Linked DNA regions of Homo sapiens: region 2 is linked to region 1. The links are contacts of gene promoters, found by promoter capture Hi-C in blood cells and fetal thymus (Javierre and others, 2016). All regions are on one chromosome and are shown on one strand. Each heading gives the region's core, a stretch centred on a gene start or on the middle of the fragment in contact. The rest is flanking DNA. Distances are from core to core; before and after follow the strand shown. Region 1 holds the start of DARS2 (aspartyl-tRNA synthetase 2, mitochondrial). Region 2 holds the start of VAMP4 (vesicle associated membrane protein 4).

The links. The method cuts DNA at HindIII sites, captures the fragments that hold promoters and counts their contacts. A CHiCAGO score of 5 or more calls a contact.
Region 2: the fragment with the promoter of VAMP4 here is called in contact with the fragment with the promoter of DARS2 in region 1 in 7 of 17 cell types (fetal thymus, non-activated CD4 T cells, monocytes and 4 more); the score reaches 13.7 in fetal thymus.

The regions. Positions count from the first base shown.
Region 1 is chr1:173,822,416-173,826,310 of GRCh38, reverse strand. DARS2 (aspartyl-tRNA synthetase 2, mitochondrial) reads right to left here and starts at 1,638. Exons shown (of 17, transcript NM_018122.5): 1 at 955-1,638. The coding sequence starts at 1,081. It overlaps CENPL (centromere protein L), which reads left to right and starts at 1,428. Exons shown (of 6, transcript NM_001387287.1): 1 at 1,428-2,099; 2 at 2,292-2,385. RefSeq lists enhancers at 1-256, 898-1,415, 1,122-1,681, 1,416-1,934, 1,912-2,151. The HindIII fragment of the contact is 2,471 bases long and covers 1-1,741 here.
Region 2 is chr1:171,740,006-171,744,117 of GRCh38, reverse strand. VAMP4 (vesicle associated membrane protein 4) reads left to right here and starts at 2,053. Exons shown (of 8, transcript NM_003762.5): 1 at 2,053-2,208. The HindIII fragment of the contact is 4,907 bases long and covers 884-4,112 here.

The DNA of each region.
Region 1 (3,895 bases), core at 389-2,888:
CTTTAGTATGAATCTAGTGTTTAACAGCCACTTGTACACTAGAAAACACTATTATAATTCTGTGAAAAATGATTTTTTTTTTTTTTTGAGATGGAGTCTCGCTCTGTCGCCCAGGCTGGAGTGCAGTGGCGCGATCTCGGCTCACTGCAAGCTCCGCCTCCGAGGTTCACGCCATTCTCCTGCCTCGGCCTCCCCAGCAGCGGGGACTACAGGCGCCCGCCACCACGCCCGGCTAATTTTTTTTTTATTTTTAGTAGAGACGGGGTTTCACCGTGTTAGCCAGGATGGTCTCGATCTCCTGACCTCGTGATCCGCCCTCCTCGACCTCCCAAAGTGCTGGGATTAACGACGTGAGCCACCGCGCCCGGCCGAAGAAGGATTTTTTTAAGGCATCAACCAAAAGCAGAGTATTCTATATATTACGTGGTTACCTTTTTGTGGTCTTTCTAAAAACTCAGGGAAAAAAAACTGCCGTATAATGAATATAATGAGAGTGAATTTCGCTTCTACACATAAGGCTATCCAGTTAAGAACAGGGGAAAAGCCGGGCGCGGTGGCTCACGCCTGTAATCCCAGCACTATGGGAGGCGGAGGCGGGTGGATCACGAGGTCAGGAGATCGAGACCATCCTGGCTAACACAGTGAAACCCCGGCTCTACCAAAAATACAGAAAAATTAGCCGGGCGTGGTCGCGGGCGCCTGTAGTCCCAGCTACTCGGGAGGCTGAGGCAGGAGAATGGCGTGAACCCGGGAGGCGGAGCTTGCAGTGAGCGGAGATCGCGCCACTTCACTCTAGCCTGGGCAGCAGAGCGAGACTCCGTCTCAAATAATAATAATAATAATAATAATAATAATAATAATGGGGGAAAAAATGAAAAATGGAATAAAAGCTCTCCGGCCGTAGATAACAGGCTGAAGTACTGTTCATAGGATAGATCTCTTCGCTATTTTCACCTGGAATTCTCCTCTGTGAACTCTGCAACAGACTTCTGTAGAGAGAACCCCAGATCGGTTGGGTGGTCCTTCTGATGGGTCTGGATAAACCCCTGTACAGCTGACTTAACCAAGAAGGGAAGTACATGTTGGAGCCACACGATGGCGAAAAACAATCACGAAATCCCACGCTGCCGGTAGTTAAAAGTCAGTTTTGGAAATACACAGAAATCCCTTAAAATTCCAGGAGTTCCCACTCTCTTCTCGAATATTTAAGGCCTCCTCCGCACAACATTGGAGTACACGTGTCTAGAAACAAGACAAATCTCCAAGGTCTCTGGGGTGCTTGCTGGGGTGGAGATAAGGGAAAGACCTCTCCCTGAGTCTTAAAGCATCAGTCTGCACTTCTACTCAACAAGTCGGCAGCCAAAAGTGACGACGAGAGAGCGACTCCACGTAGCGGCGCCAGGCGCGAGCCCAAGACAACCAGAGGCGGTCACAAGGTATACGCCCTTCTCCTCTTTCCACGCTTCTCGAGAGGCTCCCGCGGCCAGAACCGGAAAACAAGGAGTAACAGTCGCGTTTCAAATCTCGCAGACCTGCTGGCCGATTTCGAGTCTTCTGAAAGAGGAAGGCGAGCAAAGCCAAAATTCTCCCAGAGCGCGAACCCAAACACAGATCGCCGCTGGGGTCCAAGCGCCCTTCAACTCCGCCCGCTAGTGCCCAAGATTACCGGGAAGGAATTCAACGAATCAGTGGTGAGGTGCCGCCGCCATGCCTACTACGGGCGGAAATTTGAGAGAAAGCTTCGCACCGGTAGGAAAACTGAGGAGCAACCGAGCACGATTGGAAAGGTTGACGATAGTGGTTAAGTGGCTCGGCCTTGCCCTCAGTTAAAATGGCAATTTTAGTTGCTTCACTGATACGGAATCGGCGAGGCGCCAAGGAGGCTTCCTGCGTGGGGCCGCAGAGCGAGTCGGGAAACGATTTTAAACTGAAGAGGCGGCGGAGGGCCGAATTCCCTTTTCTCAACGGCTTGATTTCAGAGCTGGGCTGGTCTCTGACAGGCTCAGCTGGAGAGGGACGGGTTGGGACGCACTGTCCTTTTGCCCTTCCCCCTCCGCGAGCAGAAGCTGACTCCGCAGGAGCGAGGGTCGCAGAGCTGGGTGAGCGGAAATGTCCCTCCCAGAGTGAAGTCGCAGGGCCCGCCCCGCGTCTGAGGGAGCGGAGGTCTTCCTGGGTGCGTTTGTGTCTCTTGTGAACCCACTTGTGGAGCGAGAGGGAATTTGGGAGGGCCAGGGGTTAGTCTGGCCTCTGTCTTAGCTGTCATTTTGGCGGTTTTTTTTTTTTTTCTTCAGGGGATTTCAGTCTCCACATAGTTTTGGAGCCGGACTTTTGAAGAATGATTCGTGAATCCGGAATGGGTGACAGCGTCATCACGGCATTTTATTGGTAAAGATGCTTTGTATTGGTCCCGGACCTGCTTTAACTTTGTATTTGCCCTGTTGTGTGGTCATTATCTTACAATACTTGCGTGTTGAGGTGTGTTTAAACACTACGTGCTTAACACTGGCTAAGTATTGGCATTGGGGCGGTTGGATTTAGGTATTGGTGGCAATGTAGAAAAGTGATCAAGTCAGAGCCCCTTCACGGACTAATCACAAGAGAAACAACAAAGCTTTACTTGTGTGCTGTGAACCACAACTGCAAGTGGAATTGTCAAGAGAACTAGCCCTGCCAAGCTCAGGAAAACTTCTGAGGAGATGGCACATGGAAAATGGATAAGATTTACTGAGACAAACGGGAGTAGAGAAGTGTTTTTAATTGGCGATAAGGTGAATAAAAAGGCAGGGAGAACAGTAGAGTGATCATCTGTCTAGAGTAGGGGGTGCATGTTTGGGTATAGGGCTGTCATTTAACCTCTTAAAGAATTGTCTACTGGAACTTTCTTCACTCCCATCCCCCCACCCCCCAATGTTGTATACAAAACCTTAGAGGAAGTGTATGCAGAATGTTGGATTTTGGAAAGGCTAATGTCGATGGATCTTGGGGAAGAACTGAAGTAGTAGAAAATGAACCTGGATAGGATCAGATAATAAGATCAAATACAGTAGTGCCTTGAAAGCCAGACAGGAATTCTGATTTGACTTCATATAGATGTGTGGGAACTGTTATGGGATCTCAAGCAAGGTAATGATAAAAGTGGTGACAATGAAAGACTGATGATGGATTAGGGAAAGGGGCTAAGATTGGGAACAAGATAAGTAGCTATAATTGAGAATGAAAGTGAAGCCCACATCTAAGAGGACAAGTGTATATCTTTTTAAGAAATATGTCAGAGGCCAGGTGTGGTGGCTTATGCCTGTAATCCAGCACTTTGGGAGGCCAAGGCAGGCGGATCACCTGAGGTCAGGAGTTCAAGACCAGCCTGGCCAACATGGAGAAACCCCATCTCTACCAAAAAATACAAAAATTAGCCAGGCGTGTTGGTGCATACCTGTAGTCCCAGCTACTGGGGAGGCTGAGGCAGGAGAATCACTTGAACCTGGGAGGTGGAGGTTGCAGTGAGCCAAGATTGCACCACTGCACTCCAGCCTGGGAGACAGAGTGAGACTCTGTCTTCAAAAAAGAAATATGTGAGAATTTGATGATAAAGTTAACAAAGTTAACTTTTTAGATGTAAAGGTGATGTTGAAGGAAGAGTAAAAGATGATGAAAGTTTTTTTAGTGGGGAAAGAAAATGAAAAGGAAGAATGGAATTATTACTGAGCAAAACAGAGTACAGTAGTTGGCAAAGAAAGATTGAATAAGATGTGAAGCGATGATTAGTTTTGAACTTAATGAGTTTGACGGAGGTTGGAAATGCAGGACTGGGTTGCAGCTGTAATGGTCTGAAGACAGAGATTTAGGAGTCATATAGAATGATTATTTTCCTATGTAGAATGAATGATTTTCAGAATCT
Region 2 (4,112 bases), core at 804-3,303, 2.1 Mb after region 1:
GGAGGAAATAAGTAACTCAAGTTGCTTGGAGTTCTGACTCTAAGCTCAGTGCTATTATAATCTTTTAGGCTTACTGGTATATTTGATTCATGTTAACTGTAAAATGACATTTTCTAAGTTTCACAAATATTGGGGTTAGTCAAAGGGACTTTGTTCAGGTGATTAAGGGTGGGGCTTGCATTACCCCTCTCCTAAGCGATCATTCCAAAATGACTGGCAGGACTAAAGAATTATGTTTAAAAAACAAAAAAACCCAAAGAATGGATTATCTGTAAAAGCTATGCAATGACGTGCCTGTTAGAGCTCACTGACCACACCTTAAGTTGTCTAAGAGATGAGGCTATAACTAGCTAAACTCTAATTGGCTAAGGCACCAAAGCCAGAAAATAGCCCATAACATGCAAATATACAGACATAAAATCAACTGTAAGTGCTGGGCACAGCTGCTCATGCCTGTAATCCCAGCTACTTGGGAGGCAGAGGCAGGAAGATCACTTTAGCTCAGGAGTTCAGAGCTGCTGTGCGCTATGATTGTGTCACTGCACTCCAGCCTGGGGGAAGAAGTGAGACTTCATCTCAAAAAAAAAAAAAAGATCAGCTGTAGAAGAAAAAATAATGTCAGGGTTACCTGTGGAGTCTGGGGGTAGACCCACTATCACACCTAGACAGGGATACAAACCATGAGAGGCTTCTCTTCTAAGTGGGCCGTTTCAGTCCAAGTTGCTGACTTGGACAGCAACTTGGACTGAATAAACACAGGCAACTGAGTTTAGCATTAAGCTTTCAGAACCTTCAACTGACAACTCAACGGCTGTTTCTAAATCTCAGAACATTTAAATCAGAATCTAGGTAGCACGTGGGCACCTACGTAGTTTTAAAAGCTTTCCAAGTGATTCAACTCCAAGTGAATCAGAGTGGAGCATCGTTGCCTTAGTCATGGCATCTTTCAAATTCGTTAGTACATTTTTACATAAAAATAAACATCAAACAAAAGAAGAACAACTTTTTGGTAAGAGGGTGTCTATTCTTTCCTTTCCTTTAGTGTCCGCAGATCTTTCCTCCTGCTGTTTTCTTGTCTACTCTTGTTCTTGAACACCCCCTCTTATTTTTATGTCTTTAGAAAGTGCCTGGCACAGTATTTCAGACAGTTAAAATACTGTATCAACAAAGGACCCATAGATACTGTATTAATTTTAAAAGATGTGTAGTGAATATGATTCAATGAGTAAAATAATCCAGCTGGGGCGTGGGAGGAACGGATAATAAAACAAATAAGAGAACGGAAAAACAAAATTAGGAATTGTTTCTGGTAGACAGCTACTGCGGGCGTGGAGATCTAAACATGATACCAAATTGGGCGGAGGGGGAGGGAGTGAGGAAGGAATGGGCAGAGTGGCGGAATGGCCTGGCGAGGGCGATTTCCTGAAGGCTTTCAGGTTACAACTAAGGGATACCGGGAAAAGAACACCGAGCCCTCGTCCCGTATCTATCTAAACTAGCCGTGTTAACTTTAAGTCAATCTCCTCTCTGAACCAGATATTCCTCCTATCTAAAGGGAGGAGCCTGGCCTTAACATCTCTTTCCAAGTCTAGCTCTAATTCTGTAAACAGGGGATCAAACAGATCTCCTTTCTTCAGAAAAGGCCCCAGACGAACCCGAAGCAGGTCCTCGAGCTGCGAGCCACTCTCCACTTGCCACTCAACGTAGTCAGCCAGAGGGACGGATGTGCCACCAAGCACCACCTTCTTTCTAACGCCTCATCACCCCAGCCACGCACTCCGGCGCGGCGCCCAGTCCCGAGCGGTTCTCGGAAGTTTCCCACTCCTCCCCTAATCGCCCTCCACGCACGCCGGATCACGACCGGAACGTGGACAACCAGTGGTTGTTCCTCCCCTAAAGCACAGCATAAATTTGGAGAGATGCATCTAAACTGCGTGTGGGTTCGGGCTCTTTTAGGTGAATAGGGCTCGGCGGATCGACTTCCTCGATTATCTCCGTGCCCTGGACCCGCCCCCTCCGCCTGGCGCCAGGCCGCCGAGCGCCGATCGGCTCGATGAGCGGAGGCGCTGCTGCGGCGCTGCGGCCGACGCCGGGTCCGCACCAACTGTCTCCCCCTCCCAGCTTCTTACCTCGGCTTCCTACTCCTTCCCCCGCCCGCCCAGCACCGCCAGCCCGGGAGAGCTGCCGGGAGTTCCCCGGGAGCCTCAGGTACTGGCGCTGGCCTGTTCGCAGCGGGAGGGGCTGGTGTGAGGAGGAAGGAAACGAAGAAGACGCCCCTGCCTTGCCGCCCCCCGACGTCCTAGTCGGGCTGGTCGGCGGGCCTCGGGGATCTAGGAAGGGACCCCGGAGTGGGAAAAGGTTGGGGCCGGGGGTGCCGTGAGGAAGGAAGACGAGGACAGGGGTATGCGGACGAGGAGCAGTTGAGGGAGAGAAGAATTGGAATTGAGGGGTACTCTGGGGTGATGGGAAGAGAACAGTACCATGGATGGGGAAGGTTTGTTAAGAGTGGGATGTAGTGAGGAATTCCAGGGGGTACAATGGGGCAGGAAGGGCCAGCGTTAGGAGCAGATATATCGTGGGACGTGGCCTGGTGTGACAGATTGGGTGTGGGGGGTGAACGGAGCTGCCTGAAATTGTGTATTTAAAGGGCCCGGGGGAAAGAGCGCCAACCCTGCTGTGTTTATAATGACCGGAAGGTGGGGGTGAATCGTTACACTTGACAGGTTTTGCAAATAATATCTCCGGTCTGTGTCCATCCAAGTCACTTTATTTCTGTGAAACTGCATCAAGCAAGAAGGCTGATGACAGACAAGGAAGACGAATCAGAAAGAGAATGGAGGCTGGGAAAAGGAGAGCCTTTGCCCAGATTCAAAGCTATTGACTAGATAACGTACTACTTACAAAAACGCACACATAGACATTTAAGTATATGCTGATGTATAAGAAGCATACGGTGATGTGACTCATTTGAGTGAATTGTATAGTGGTGGTCTATCCTCAATGTGGAAGTACATGATGGCTCTCTTATTTACATGTATACCTAGTCACAAACAGCTGAATTCACATGTCTTTTTTTGTAGGAGAAATCTTAGGCAGACTATATCCTAGTCTACTTTCTGAGCATGATTTATTTCTACTAGTTGTTTGATACACATATCAGTTACTAATAATCAGTTGCAAATAACATCAAAGTTCATCAAGGTAGCTAATTAATCTGCCTACTGCTTTGCTGATGGGCTATTTGTTGCACATGGTTTCTTGGGATTAAGAGACCTGAATATGGTGTTTGCTCATCCTTAAGATTGTAGTTTTACTGTATGTCTTATAAAGGCATTATATAAGTCTGCCCGTTGTTTGCTTTGGGATGTTGAGGCAGCCTCATTGCAGGGGTTAAAATCTAAATACAGATAATAGTTAAAAGCACAAGTTCTTCAGTAATTTGCCTTGTCATCTGTTTTTCCATGCATTCTGTTACATTTCTGCATGAATGAAGTATTCTGACATCAAAGTATGAGGAATAAAAGGGCCAGATGTATGTGACAGAAATATTGTGGAACCAAGAACTCAAGAGCTGTTACTCAGGCAGCAAGAATTTGGTTTTTGTTACAAGTGAATAATTTCTGATTTGGAAGCATTTCTTATCAAAGAAAAGTGTGTCCTTTGGTTTTGACAAGCAGCTGACTTAAAACATTACTTTTATTTGGTTCGTGAAGCCAGATCCTGGGATTATTCTTTTTTAAGTGTATATCATTAACAAACAAACTGATGTCTAACTATACCTAATTTAAAGGTCTAAGTGTTTCTTCTTATGGAAAAGGAAGCAGGACTATTGGGTTGTTAGCAGGAAGTGAGTCTTTCTAGAACAGAATTCTGTAAACCTGATGGGCAACTAATTGAACAAATGATTAAAACTGATAATGCACAGCCATTGATTAATTTAGGCCTGTATCTCTGCTGTTTCAATGAATGTAGTGACTAACGTTATCGTTACTAAACTTTAGTTTTCTCCTAGTTTCTTGGTGCCTACTTTAAAGAAGCATCATAAAGAGTAAAAGAAAATGCATGTGTATCACTGAGCACCGTGCCTAGCACATAGTAAAACATTCAGTATT